Regions from separate parts of the Homo sapiens genome. Here region 1 is linked to region 2. Evidence: promoter capture Hi-C in human tissues and cell types (Jung and others, 2019). All regions are on one chromosome and are shown on one strand. The core of a region is centred on a gene start or on the middle of the fragment in contact, and the rest is flanking DNA. Distances in the headings are between cores, read along the strand shown. Region 1 overlaps CSNK1G1 (casein kinase 1 gamma 1). Region 2 holds the start of MTFMT (mitochondrial methionyl-tRNA formyltransferase).

Evidence for each region. Contacts are between HindIII fragments. The study calls those that stand out against the background at their distance.
Region 1: a contact is called between a fragment that was not itself captured here and the fragment with the promoter of MTFMT in region 2, in 1 of the 25 tissues and cell types used here (aorta).

Annotation. Positions count from the first base shown.
Region 1 is chr15:64,242,624-64,249,380 of GRCh38, reverse strand. The region is part of intron 4 of CSNK1G1 (casein kinase 1 gamma 1); the gene reads left to right. Among named protein-coding and RNA genes, the nearest start is that of PPIB, 83 kb to the right of the region's middle. RefSeq lists enhancers at 1,037-1,331, 2,221-2,280, 2,401-2,901, 2,902-3,402. The HindIII fragment of the contact is 4,593 bases long and covers 1-4,378 here.
Region 2 is chr15:65,027,015-65,034,387 of GRCh38, reverse strand. It overlaps MTFMT (mitochondrial methionyl-tRNA formyltransferase), which reads left to right and starts at 4,749. Exons shown (of 9, transcript NM_139242.4): 1 at 4,749-4,983; 2 at 7,348-7,373. The coding sequence starts at 4,775. RefSeq lists an enhancer at 983-1,062 and silencers at 4,597-4,786, 5,037-5,336. The HindIII fragment of the contact is 8,500 bases long and covers 1,205-7,373 here.

The DNA.
Region 1 (6,757 bases), core at 833-3,332, 780 kb after region 2:
ACAAGGTAGCTGCAGACTTTTCCAAGATAGGAAGTGCTTTAGTTTTCTGTTTCAAATCCCCTTGCTACCCCTACCCGCTAGTGTAAGAATTACTTTTAGGATTTTCTTACAGTCATCTAAATCGGCTTGACTACTTAGTTCTAATCATAGAGTTCACCACTCTTCAGGCTAATTTAATGTGGGAAAGTCCAGTGTATTTGAAGTTCTTCATATTAGGCCCAAGTTTGCCATTTATTTATATATTTATTATTTTTAAAATTTAGATGGAGTCTTGCTATGTCACCAGGCTGGAGTGCAGTGGCACTATCTCGGCTCACTGCAACTTCCGCTTCCCGGGTTCACGCCATTCTCCTCCTCAGCCTCCCGAGTAGCTGGGCCTACAGGCGCCCGCCACCATGCCCAGCTAGTTTTTTTTTGTAATTTTAATAGAGACGGGGTTTCACCATGTTAGCCAGGATGGTCTCGATCTCCTGACCTCGTGATCCGCCTGCCTCGGCCTCCCAAAGTGCTGGGATTACAGGCGTGAGCCACCACGCCTGGCCAATTTTTTGTATTTTTTTAGTAGAGACGGGGTTTCACCATGTTGGCCAGGATGGTCTTGATCTCCTGACCTCGTGATCTGCCTGCCTCGCCCTCTCTAAGTGCTGGGATTACAGATGTGAGCCGCCGTGCCTGGCCATATTTTTTATTTTATTTTTTCCAGAGTCCAGATGAGGAAGAACATTGGGATATTTTTAAAATCCTGATTATATTATCCTATTGATGATTAGGCATTGACTATTTTTTTATTGTAATTGCATATTGGTCCCACTCTCCCCACTCCCTGCCATAAGATTATAAGCTCCTTGAAAACAAGCCTTGTGTCTTCTTTACCCTTGTATCTCAAGCGTATCTTAAGGCCTGGTGTGATGTCATTCTGTCACATAGCAGTCAGCAAGTAGTTCAGTGGCAGAAAGAAGTTAGAAAGATTTAATAAGCTTGCCTTTTTAGATTTTTACCAATGTTATTAATAAAAATATTCCTTGTGATGGTTAAAAAAAGGAAATTTATTTTGAAAGAAGATCAATTGACAAGAAAATAGACAAGATTTCACCATGTGTCCTTGTAAATGTGAGCATGAACACCAGAGCTTGTTTTTAACTTAGAGGCACAGCATTCCTCCCCCTATTTTTTCAGAGTAAGTTCTCAGCTGCAAGTATGACTCATTGGTAGTTAATGTTTGAGCAGCCAGTGCGCATATGCCACTCTTTTGATTACCAAGGTGATGTTGCAGCATTGTAAATAAACAACCTTTTGTGCCAAAGCCACACAAAGACCACAGTAACATAATTAGTGTTTTTACTCACTAGTGTTTTGTCTGTCATTGTTCATTACTGTCCAGTGAATTATAAAATATTTGGATTTCCTGACAATGAATACTTAAACAAAAAGCCCATTGTGACTTAGGTTTGTTCAGTGAATTAATCATTGCTTATAAATGTATGAAATTATTTGGGAAAAATGATTGATTATGAATTTAAAGAATACCTATTGCTGTGATATCCAGAGCTTGAGACATTAAATTCCTAAAATAGGAACTTTTTGTTGTCCTGGGACTATGACCATTTTCTTCAGTACCCAACTCTTAATCATTACCTTGGCCTTTTGGACCCCAGTTTCACATTGATGACCTGATCTAGAAATTCATACCAATTCTCTAATTATGTAGAGATAGAACAAAAATGACAGCACTGGGTAATTGTGAATGTGGTTCTGGTTGGAGGTCTTCCACATTGTCTCTGCTTTTCCTTGTGTGATCTCTAACTCTTTCTCTTCCATTCCACTTTGTTTTCTAGTGAGTGGTCACACTTTTCAAGCTTTGTTTCTTGATTACAGTTTTACCACCAAGATTTTCAAGACTTAATGCTTAAGAATTGATATCTCCAAGATAATCAGGGAAGAAAGTAAAGGGGACCATGAGAACCTTGAAACTGAGAATAAGCATTTTATTTTCCTGTTAGCTATCATTTTTTCATTTCTTATAGAAACCAAATTGTAAAATCTTATAACTATTTTTCTTATTTTCTTCAATCATCAATGTTATGTTAATTGTATTATGGTCACCATAGGCAAGTTTTAATTTCTTTTCTTTTTATGGGAATGATTTTAGGTTTCAGTATTTCCTTAGGGTCTTTTACTTAGGAAGATACATACATTATCAATTTAAAAATTTTCCAATCCATAAATCTTTTTTCCAGCATAGCTCTCAGTTTTGCTTGTATTCTAGCACACAGGAACAAGATTTGGTGGATGAGAGGTTTGGGGCAGAGATATGAAAGAGTCTGTGGCCGAAACAGATCCGTATTAGGAAGAGTGACAGTATGAGAATGACTCCATAGCTGACCACATGACAACAGCGTGGTATATGTTCGTTAATTGACTAGAAGATGAATAAGCCAGAACCAAGCATGCAGCTGAAGTGGGAGGAAAAAGGGAGGGAGGGGATGAGTCAGCAAGGACCAGAGCAAATGAAAGAGGATTGAGGGTTTAGAGGGTAGGTAAACGGCAGGATAATAGGATTCTTTGCAGTAAATGACAGGAAAATGGAGGTCTCTGACATAACCTGAAATTTCTAAGTCTAGGCTCCCATATCCTGGCTTCCCAGCAGCTATTGTAATCTAGTGACTCTTCTGATTTGGCTCTCTTATAAAGGAGAAGCTAATCCTCAAATTAAAAAATGACAAGATTCCTCCCCCCCCCCCTTTTTTTTTTTTTTAAAGAGACGGACTCTTGCTCTGATTCTGAGGCTAGAGTGTAGTGGTGCAATCGTAGCTTGCTGCAGCCTCAAATTCTTTGGCTCTAGTCATCCTCCCGCCTCAGCCTCCCAAGTAGCTGGGACTACAGGCGCAATGCACCATAGCTGGCTAATATTTTTAGTTTTTTGTAGGGATGGAGTCTCACTATGTTGACCAGGCTGGTCTTGAACTCTTGGCCCCAGGTGATCCTCTCACCTTGGCTGCCCAAAGTGCTGGGATCACAGGCATGAACCACTGTGTCCAGCCTTAACAAGACCCCAGTTGAAACTTCACAAATGCAGTAGTCAAAACAAAATCTCATTGGGCAGAGAAAGCCAGTTAACTTGTTAAATACCTAGTAGGCGGTTCATTTTTAAAATTGATACATAATATACCTATTTATGGGATATATGTGATATTTTGATACATGCATATCTATGTGTAATTATCAAGTCAGGGTGGTTAAGCTACTCATTACCTCAAACATTTACCATTTCTTTGTGTTGGGAACATTTCAAATCTACTCTTCTGGCTATTTTGAAATATACAATAAATTATTGTTAACTATAGTCACTCTGCTGTGCTATCAACACTAGAATTTATTGCTTCTAACTGTATGTTTGTACCCATTAACCAAGCTCTCTTCATCCTCCCCACACCCAACCATTCCCAGCCTCTGGTAACCATCATTCTATATGAGATCAACTTTTTAAGTTTTCACATGAGCGAGAACATGTGATATTTGTCTTTCCCTGCCTACCTTATTTCAGTTATTATAAAGGCCTCCAGTTCCATCTGTGTTGCTGCAAATGACAGAATTTCATTCTTTTTTTGTGTGTGTGTCTTTTTTTTTTTTCCTTTTTGTGGAGAACCGGGGTCTCGCTATACTGCCCAGTCAGGTCTCAAACTCCTGGGCTCAAACTATCCTCCCACCTCGCCTCTCTGAGAGCTGGGCTTACAGGTGTGAATTTCATTCTTTTTTATGGGTGAATAGTATTTCCTTGTGTGTATATGTACCACATTTTTTTGTCCTTTATCTGTTAATGGACACTTAGGTTAATTGCATATCTTTGCTATTATGAATAGAGCTGTAATAAACATGGACGTACACACATGTTTTTGATAAACTGATTTTGATAATGGCTGTGAAGATCATTTGCCCATTTTTAAATCAGATTATTATTTTTACTATTTTTTGCTATTGAGTTGTTTGAATTGCATATATATCCTGGCTATTAATTAATCCCTTATTAGATACATGGTTTGCATATATTATATTTTCTCTTATTCTACTGGTTGTCTCTTCACTCAGTTGTTTCCTTTGCTGTGCAGGAGCTTCTTAGCTTGCTGAAATTCCATTTGTTTATTTTTGCTTCTGTTGCCTGTGTTTTTGAGGTCTTACCTGAAAGATTTTGCCCAGACCAATGTCATGAAGCATTTCCCCAATGTTTTATTCTAGTAGTTTCATAGTTTCAGGTCTTACATCTAAGTCTTTAATCCATTTTGATTTGTTTTTTTTTGTATAGTTAGAGATAGGGGTCTAGTTTCATTTCTCTAAACAGACCATCCTTTCCCTACTGAATGTTCTTGGCACCTTTGTTGAAAATTAGCTGGTTCCAAATATGTGGGTTTATTTCTGGGTTCTCTCCTCTCTTCCCTTGGTCTCTTTGTCTGTTTATGCCAGTAACATGCTGTTTGGTTACTGTAGCTTTGTAGTATATTTTGACATCAGGTAGTGCGTGATTAGTGGGTGATGCCTCCAGCTGTGTTGTTTTTTTTTCCCCGCCTTGATACAGGGTCTTACTCTGTTACCCAGGCTGTAGTGCAGTGATGTGATCACGGCTCACTACAGCCTCAGCCTCCCTCACCACGCCCTGCTAATTTTTTGTAGAGGTGGGGTTTTGCCATGTTACACAGGCAGGCATCAAACTCCTGGACTCCAGTGATCCACCTGCCTCAGCCTCCCAAAGTGCTGGGATTACAGGTGTGAGCCATTATGCCTGGCCTTGCTTTGTTCTTTTTGCTCAGGATTGCTTTGGCTATTCAGAGTCTTCTGTGATTTCATAAGAATTTTAGGATTGTTTTTTCTATTTCTGTGAAGAATGTCTTAGGTATTTTGATATGGATTGTGTTGAAGCTATAGATTGCTTTTGGTATTATTAATATTTTTACAATATTCTTCCAATCTATGAACAAGGGATGTCTCCCCCCGGCCCACACTCTTTTTTTTTTTTTTTTTTAATTTTTCAGTTTCCTTCACCAGTGTTTTACAGTTTCCCTTGTAGAGCTCTTTCATATCCTTGGTTGAATTTATTCCTAGGTATTTTTTTTGTAGCTATTGTAAATGGAATTACTTTCTTGATTTTTTTCCACTAGTTTGTTATTGGGATGTAGAGATGCTACTAATTTATTTATTTCTTATTTTATTTTTATTTTTTGAGACAGAGTCTCGCTCTGTCGCCCAGGCTGGAGTGCAGTGGCGTGATCTCGGCTCACTGCAACCTCTGCCTCCCAGATTCAAGCAATTCTCCTGCCTCAGCCTCCCAAGTAGCTGGGATTACAGGTGCCCACCACCACACCCAGCTAGTTTTTGTATTTTTAGTAGAGACGGGGTTTCACCATGTTGGCCAGGCTGTTCTCGAAGTCCTGACCTCAGGTGATCCACCTGCCTAGGCCTCCCAAAGTGCTGGGATTGCAGGTGTGAGCCACCATGCCCGGCCTGTTTATTTATTTTTTTGAAACAGGTTCTCACTCAGTCACCCAGGCTGGAGTGCAGTGGTGTGATCTCGGCTCACTGCAACCTCCACTTCTCAGGCTCAAGTGATCCTCCTGCCTCAGCCTCCTGAGTAGATGGGACTACAGGCACATGGCTAGTAATTTTTGCATGTTGCTTTTGTATCTTGCAACTTGACTACATTTTTAAATTCATTTTGAGAATTTTTTTGGTGGCAGTTTTAGGATTTTCCACATATACAATCATGTCACTTGCATATAGGGACAATTCGACTTCCTCCTTTTCAATTTGGATGCCCTTTATGTCTTTTTCTTGCCTGTTTGCTCTGGATAGTACTTCTAGTACTATGTTGAATTAGAGTGGTGAGAGACGGCATCCTGTCTTGTTCCAATTTTTTGAGGAGAAATTCAGCTTTTCCCTGTTTAAAATGATGTTAGCTGTATTTGTCCTATATGACCTTTGTTACATTGAGGTATGTTCCTTCTGTACCTAGTTTGTTGAGGGTTTTTTTTGTTTTGTTTTGTTTTGTTTTTCTTTGAGATGGAGTCTCGCTCTGTCTCCCAAGCTAGAGTGCAGTGGCGCAATCTTGGCTCACTGCAACCTCTGCCTCCCTGGTTCAAGCGATTCTCCTGCCTCAGCCTTCCGAGTAGCTGGGATTACAGGTTCACGCCACCACACCTAGCTAATTTTTGTATTTTTAGTAGAGACAGGGTATCACCATGTTGGCCAGGATAGTCTCGATCTCTTGACCTCATGATCCGCCCTCCTCAAAGCCTCCCAAAGTGCTTGGATTACAGGCGAGAGCCACCGCGCCCAGCCGAGGATTTTTTTTTAATCATGAAGGGATGTTGAATTTTATCAAATGCCTTTTCTGTGTCTATTGAGATGATCATACGGTTTTGTCCATTCTATTCATGAGATATATCTCATATATTAATTTATGTATGTTGAATCATTCTTGCATCCCTGGAATAAATCCCACTTGATCATGGTGAATTATCTTTTTTATACATTGTTGGATTTGGTTTGCTAGTATTTTGTTAAGAATTTTTGCATCTATGTTCATGAGGAATATTGCTATGTAGTTTTCTTTTGTTGTTGTGTCCTGGTCTGGTTTTGGCATCAGGGTAATCCTGGACTCAGAATGAGTTTGGAAGAATTTTCTCCTCTTCACTTTTCTAATGTTTTAGAAGAATTTATATTAGTTATTGATATAAATCTGGTTGAATTCAGTAGTGAAGCCGTATTA
Region 2 (7,373 bases), core at 3,500-5,999:
ACAGAGTCAGCTACATCAGATTGGAGGCAAGTAGGATTCCCACAGGAGAGCAGGATATAAGCAAATGAGCCTTTCTATAACTGTTACATAAGGACTGAGATGATCATTATCCCCCACAGAGGGATGTATTATAGACCTGAAGGTTTTGGCAAATCTCCAGAGAATGATAATCTATATTGTAAAATGTAAAGAGGATACCACAAGCATCTCCAACCAACCAAATTATTACACTTCTAGGAAAAATTTTCTTAGAAGTGTATTTATTGATAGCCCTTACATACAAACAGAAATATGCTACCACCCCACACAGGATACATGATATATATTCACAATAACAATCTATACAAAACTTCCTTGGGGTAGCTTCAGCCTCTCTTTCCCATATTCTGAACCTGGTAAATAAAGGAAGCATGCTAGTGAGCAGCTGATTAGAAACTATGGAGCTAATCAATTGCATGCAATCGCTCTTCTTTGAGTCCCACGTGAGGGTAAAGGGTGAGGAAGCAAGGCTGTGGTGCTATCTAGTGGCTGTCTAGGAAGTAGCAAAGGCGGTTTTGTTTAAAAAAGGATTTCTGTTTTATCACTCCATATGTGGAGCCTGATTTCAGAGAACAGCATCAAAAAGTGTTTTCCGATATAAACATAGGTGTCCAAGAACAAGAACTGGCCACAGCTGTAGCTATTTTACTAACTAGTCTTTCCTCCTGTTAACAACATACAGCTTTGTTAACACTGTCTAGCATTTTTGCTGGGGGTAAAGGGCTGGGAACTAAAGTTTTTAATATTTGATCTCTTTAAGTGTACTTTGAAATATTCTCTTGGTTTTCTAGGATGCCCCTCAGCAGCAATGAGGAAACGTCCATATTGTTAGGCTGCTTCTCCTACCTGTGGTATATCTGGCTTCGCTTCCTGGGGTTCCTGATACCCCTTAGATGTCCCTTAACCTCTCCAGTCTCTCTCCTTATCAAGGAGAGTCCTGTGGACCCACACTGCTGTGTGTGGCCTTTCATCCCCGGCCCTGATTTACAGAGAGGCTGGACAGGTTAGGGAGTGACATCTACTGGACCACACAGGGCAGTAACAACACAGAGGGCAGATTCTGTCAGAGGTACTGGAGCAAACGGACTATCCGTCACGCTCAGTGACGGGACAGGCTGGTGGGCAGCACCTCCTTGCGGGCATCTGATACAACCACAGGCAGGCGATGGCAGTACATGGAGTGGCTCGCTAGGAACTGCATCTCAAAAGGCTTCACTGGACTGTGCCCCTGAGGTCAGTTCCTGCCCCTGGCACTGGGCTGACACCTATGTGTGGCAGTCCTTCCCCTGGTCAAATGTGGCATTGCCTCCTAGGCCACAAGCAGGGGTTCTTGTGGACTTAGGCGTTGGCCACCTTACTAACTGGAGTTCTGTTCTGTGGTAGTTATCCTCACCCTGCAGAAATACCCATATAGTCATGGAGTGGGGTGAGATGACGGGAACAGGAAGTGGAAATGCTTGTTGCCTCTTCCCATTCCCAGATCAGCTCTCCCAGCCCCTAGTCATGGAGGCCACTCCTGCATTCCAGTTTTCTACTAAACGTCTCCATTTGCTTGTCTCATCACTTCAGTTTCAAAGCATTCAAGGGTGAAATGTCATGTTGACCACCAAGTGGGTTATTTCCCTACGTCAATGACACTGCTATTGTCTTGTCACCCAGACTCAGAACCTGGAGTAATTTCATTGATTCAGCATCCGCACACACTCTATTCATCAAGAAAGATAAATTTCTGAAAACAGGAGCACCAACTGAATTAGCATTATCTGGGTTCCAATCCCCTTGTATGTGCTTTCTGGGTGTCTTAATTTATTATGTAAAACTCCTTGCCATTCGGGGCTGGAGTCCTCATCTTCTCTGTGTGCTTTATGATAGTTCCAGTGGTGGATTTATCTGGTCTTGAAAGTAGACACCCCTCGTCCTCTACAACATACTCTTAACTCACTACCAAGAGTTTCAGAAATATTTTCATTTTTACATCCTGGGAAAACCTCAGCCATTACAGTAACACCATGTTCCTTTAAAAAAAAAAAAAGAAGTTTGCTGCAAATCAATTTTAAAAAGAAGTTTGTGTTTGTTAACTAGAAATTTAGATGCCAGTGATAGGAGGCGGATCTGTGGAGGAAAGAAAACGATTGGAATTAGCCCCTCAACCTGAGCAGTCGCTCTGTAGTCATCAAAGGACTCTGGGAATGGTGCAAAACAACCCTAGGGGGCAGGGTTATCTGGGAGAACTCGGGCTGCTGAAAATTAAAGGTAGCATAAAGCAGGCTCTCTAACTCAAGAGCTTAAAACCCACTAGGGAAGAAATGGCATAAACACAGGTACCAAGGTTTACACTTTAGGCAGCAGCCAAATTCTAAGGTGAAAACCAGTTGACTATTTGCATTGTATTTCTAGGTCATGTTGTATGGGAAAAGACCAGTCTTCGAATATTAGAATCACATTCTGCTCACCCTAAGAGAGGATACTGGAACAGAACTTGATCAAGGGAATAGAGGGTTTGGGGTCCCATCTCACTCTCCTTCTCATATGTGATCAGATAAGCAAAATTACTGGAATATCTTCCTCTTTGCTTCTCTTTTCTGTTCAAAACACATGTGAATTTCTCAATGTCTATGCATACATTAGACAACCTTCCTCAGTAATACCAAACTACATGAGAAATGGGGGTCCCTACAGAGTATTAAGGGGGCACATGGGCTAAGCACGGTGGCTCATGCCTGTAATCCCAGCACTTTGGGAGGCCAAAGCAGGTGGATCACCTGAGGTCAGGAGTTCGAGACCAGCCTGCCCAACACGGCAAAACCCCATCTCTACTAAAAATACAAAAAATTAGCCAGACGTGGTGGCAGGCGCCTGTAATCACAGCTACTCAGGAGGCTGAGGCAGCAGAATCGCTTGCACAGGGGAGGTGGAGGGTGCAGTGAGCCAAGATCACACCACTGCACTCCAGCCTGGGTGACAGAGTGAGACTCTGTCTCAAAAACAAAAACAAAAACAACAGCAACAACAAAAAAAAACAGGGGCACATGGAGAAAGACAAGAAATCTAAGGAGGCAAGAGCTTGAAGCTTCAGGGCGAATGTCTGAACTTCGTGTTGAAGAATGGATACCATTTAGAGATGAAGAGATGTGGGAAGGCAGTCTAGGAAGGGAGCATGAGCAAAGGCACAGGAGCAGGGATGTGCAGAGCTCATAATTTAGGAAAAAGGACTGGTCCAGGGTCACTGGGTTTAAGACTGTGTGATGGGAAAAGGTGGTGAGACGGCAGGGCGCAGTGGCTCATGCCTGTAATCCTAGCACTTTGGGGGGCCAAGGCAGGCAGATCACCTGAGGTCAGGAGTTCAAGACCAGCCTGGTCAACATAGTGAATCCCATCTCTACTAAAAATACAAAAATTAGCTAGGTGTAGTGGCGCATGTCCCAGCTACTTGGGAGGCTGAGGCAGGAGAATCGCCTGAACCTGGGAAGCAGCGGTTGCAGTGAGCCAAGATCGCCCGCCACTGCCCTCCAGCCTGAAAAACAGAGCGAGACTCCATCTCAAAAAAAAAAAAAAAAAAAAAAAAAATGGTGGTGAGAATAAGATTAGAACAAAATTCGGTTTCAGTCTCTGCTCAGATCCTGTTTCATGGATGTCTGACTCCACTCAAGGAGGCTTTGGGGATACAGAATCTAAGCACTAACGGTCCTCGGAGGTCTTCTGGGGATAAGGTTCCCTGTCCATTTCCCTAGGAATCACCTCTATGGTATCCTTCTGTGTGCAAAGGAACCCACAGGGGAGGAGTAAAGATGGAGCCTTCGATTCAAGAAAGTAACTGCAGACAAGTAACTAAGGCTCAGTTTCCTCAGGTGCAAAATGTGGGTAATTGACTTGCCTAATACATAGGATCGCTGAGAAGGCCCAACGGCTAGGATTACAAGCGTTGGAATTACAAGAGTCCCACCTCTGCTCTGTCCTTTACTAGCTGTGTGGACCTTATACACTGGTAAGTCCTTAATTTCACGGAGCTTCAGTTTCTCTTCAGTAACATATTTGTAATAGTATCTACCTCCTAAGGTTGATCTGATGATTAACCAGAATAATGAATATAAAATGCTTAGCAAAAACGTGGCACGGAGTGAAGTACTCAGCAAATATTGGTTATAATGGTTGAGGAAATGACATGCACTATATACATGAGGTTTCATTGTCTGAAAACATGCACGATTTGTTACCAAAAGACTTATCCTGGGCCGGCGCAGTGGCTCACGCCTGTAACCCCAGCACTTGGGGAGGCCAAGGCAGGAGGATTGCTTGAGACCTGGGCAACATAGTGAGATACTCTCTCTACAAAAAATCAGCCCAGCATGGTGATGTGTGCCTGTACCCCAGCTACTCCGGAGGCTGAGGTGGGAGGATCCCTTGAGCCCAGGAGCAGTGAGGTTGCAGTAAGCAGAGATCGCGCCACAGCACTCCAGCCTGCGCGACAGAGCAAGACCCTTTCTGAAATAAATAAATAAATAAATAAATAAATAAATAAAGCGATTTTAAAAAGAAAAGAAAGACTTATTCTGGAGGATTGGCTACATAGTGCAAATAAACAGAACAAAAATCTAGGGCCGCTGTAGCGGGCAAATTCGTTCACCAACTCCAACCAGACCCCGCCTCCAAGCAGGCAAGCCCCGCCCTCCCCAGGCTGCACCCTTGTCCCCGCCCCGATGCGCCTGCGCAGGGCCGGCCGCCGGCGGCCGAGGCGATGAGGGTGTTGGTGCGGCGCTGTTGGGGTCCTCCGCTGGCTCATGGCGCCAGGCGTGGGAGGCCGAGTCCCCAGTGGCGAGCACTGGCCCGACTCGGCTGGGAGGACTGCCGGGACTCCAGAGTCCGCGAGAAGCCTCCCTGGCGGGTGCTCTTCTTCGGCACGGACCAGTTCGCCCGCGAGGCGCTGCGGGCGCTGCACGCCGCCAGGTACCCGGGCCAGGGATCCGGGGACCCGGCCGCTGAAGGCCTCCAGGCCGCGCCCGGGCGGCCGGCCCCGAGGGTTTTGGACTTCTGGTTGCGGAAAGCATGGGCGGCAGAGCGGTGTGGGCCCAGATCTCGGCGTCTTCTGGCTCCCAGAAGGTGCGCCATTCCCGCCGGTCAGCCTTTGGGCGCCTAGTACCTGCGGTCTGCGCCCCTCACTCCCCGCCGCCTCTGTGGGTTCTCCAGGCGCCCTGCCACCCACGCTGTGCCGAGCTGGGGCTGGGCGCTCTGCCTGCATCCCCCGGGCCAGTCCCACGGCCTCCCTGCCCGTTTTGAGTGTGGGGAATCCGTGGCTCAGAGAGGTTATGCGATTGCCCAAGGTCATCAGCCGAGGTGGTTCGGACTAAAACCAGGTCCCACTTCAAAGTTCCCTGCTTTGCAGTTCCTCCTGACCCCCATCCTTCGGCACACCCGTGTCTCGCTCTTTTGCTCCCCCTGTGCTCCTTGTATACAAGGACATAGTCCAAAAACGACCTGTTTTCAAAAGAATAAATTTATAAATCAGAACTGTTAGGTATACATTTAGTATTCATAATATTTAACAAGTTTTGTTTACTGGGAAAGAAAATTATTTGAAATCCAACCAGTCCTGAGAGTCCATGGTATGTGGTGGCAATACCGTATATACTTCTCTGCCTCTTTTTCCCAATTAATGTTTTTTATTTCCCCATTCTGTTTTTTTCTGACGCAGTCCTCCTTCCACTTTTTTTGGTCATCTCCATCTCCTTTTCCCTACAGATACTTCACAGCAGCCCCTCATGTATTGAATCCTTCGTCAATCCCCTGTGTGGTTTTCCTTCCTCCACACACCCCTCTGTGCACACACCCGGAAGGAAACCCCATGTTCCCTTTGCACACCCTTCATGGGCTGCTGTTGTCACATGCGTCTCTCACTGCATTTATACATTTATACCAACACTTTTTTTGTTTGTTTCTGAGGCGAGGTCTCGCGCTGTCCCCCAGGCTGGAGTGCAGTGGCCGGCTCATAGCTCACTGCAGCCTCGACCTCAAAGATCAAGCAATCATCCCATCTCAGCTTCCAGAGTAGCTAGGACTACGGGCGTGCACCACCACGCCTGATTTTTAAATTTTTTGTAGAGGCGGGTTTTCACCATGTTGCCCAGGCTTATCTCAAACTCCTGGGATCAAGTGATCCTCTCACCTTGGCCTCCCAAAGTGCTGAGATTACAGGCCTGAGCCATCATTCCTGGCCTATCCTGATACTTCTGATGATGCTTCACTTGGCAGCTCCATTACTCCTGTGCTTTCTTTATAGTGCCCCAGGACATACTCCTCATAACTCCTCAACGTGTACATACAATACCTGTTTAATAAATGTACCCCCCTGGGTACTAGAATGCTATGCAGCAGGTAGAAAGGATGAGGTAGTGCTACAGGTACTGCCATGGAATGATAGCCATGTTATGTATTTTTGTTTGTTTTTTAAAAAGTAGTGTTTGAATGGCATCATGGTTATGGTAAAAAAGTTCCATGGATTCAAAGGATATACAGTGAAAAGTTACTTCCTTCCACCTCTGTTTAGCAGTTCCCAGTTCCTTTATCCAGAGACAGCCACTGTTTTCAGTTCCTTCTAGAAATGTTCAGTGAATATACAAATATACGTATATTTAACCCATTTTTCAAAAAGACACATAATAGCATATATAGCATTGTTAAAAGGAAAAAAAATGCAAAGCAGTATGTAATATCCCAGTTGTGTAAAGTATCCATACTGTATATGTTTCTGTATGCACAGGAAATCCCTAGAATGATACTGTTCAAACAGTAGCCACTAGCCACGTGTCACTCTTTACATTTTAAATAATTAAAATTAAATAAAAAATGAAAACTGAGGCTGGGCACGGTGTTCACGCCTGTAATCCCAGCACTTTGGGAGGTGGAGGCGGACGGATCACTTGAGGTCAGGAGTTGGAGACCAGCCTGGCCAACATGGGGAAACCCTGCCTCCACTAAAAAACACAAAAATTAGCTGGGTGTGGTGGTGCATGCCTGTAATCCCAGCTATTCGGGAGACTGAGGCAGGATAATCGCTTGAACCTAGGGGGCAGAGGTTGCAGTGAGCTGAGATCGCTCCACTGCACTCCAGCCTGGGTGACAGAGTGAGACTCCAGCTCAAAAAAAAAAAAAGAAAAAGAAAAAATGAAAACTCAGTCTCTCACACTAGTTTTAATCATTTAGCCCTAAATGCTTCATGAGATTAATCATAAACATACTTAGCGATATGTGAAGTAGTTTTAGCTTTGAGTCATTGCCTTAACACTGTCACATTTTTCTTCCTATCTAATTTAGGGAAAACAAAGAAGAAGAGTTAATCG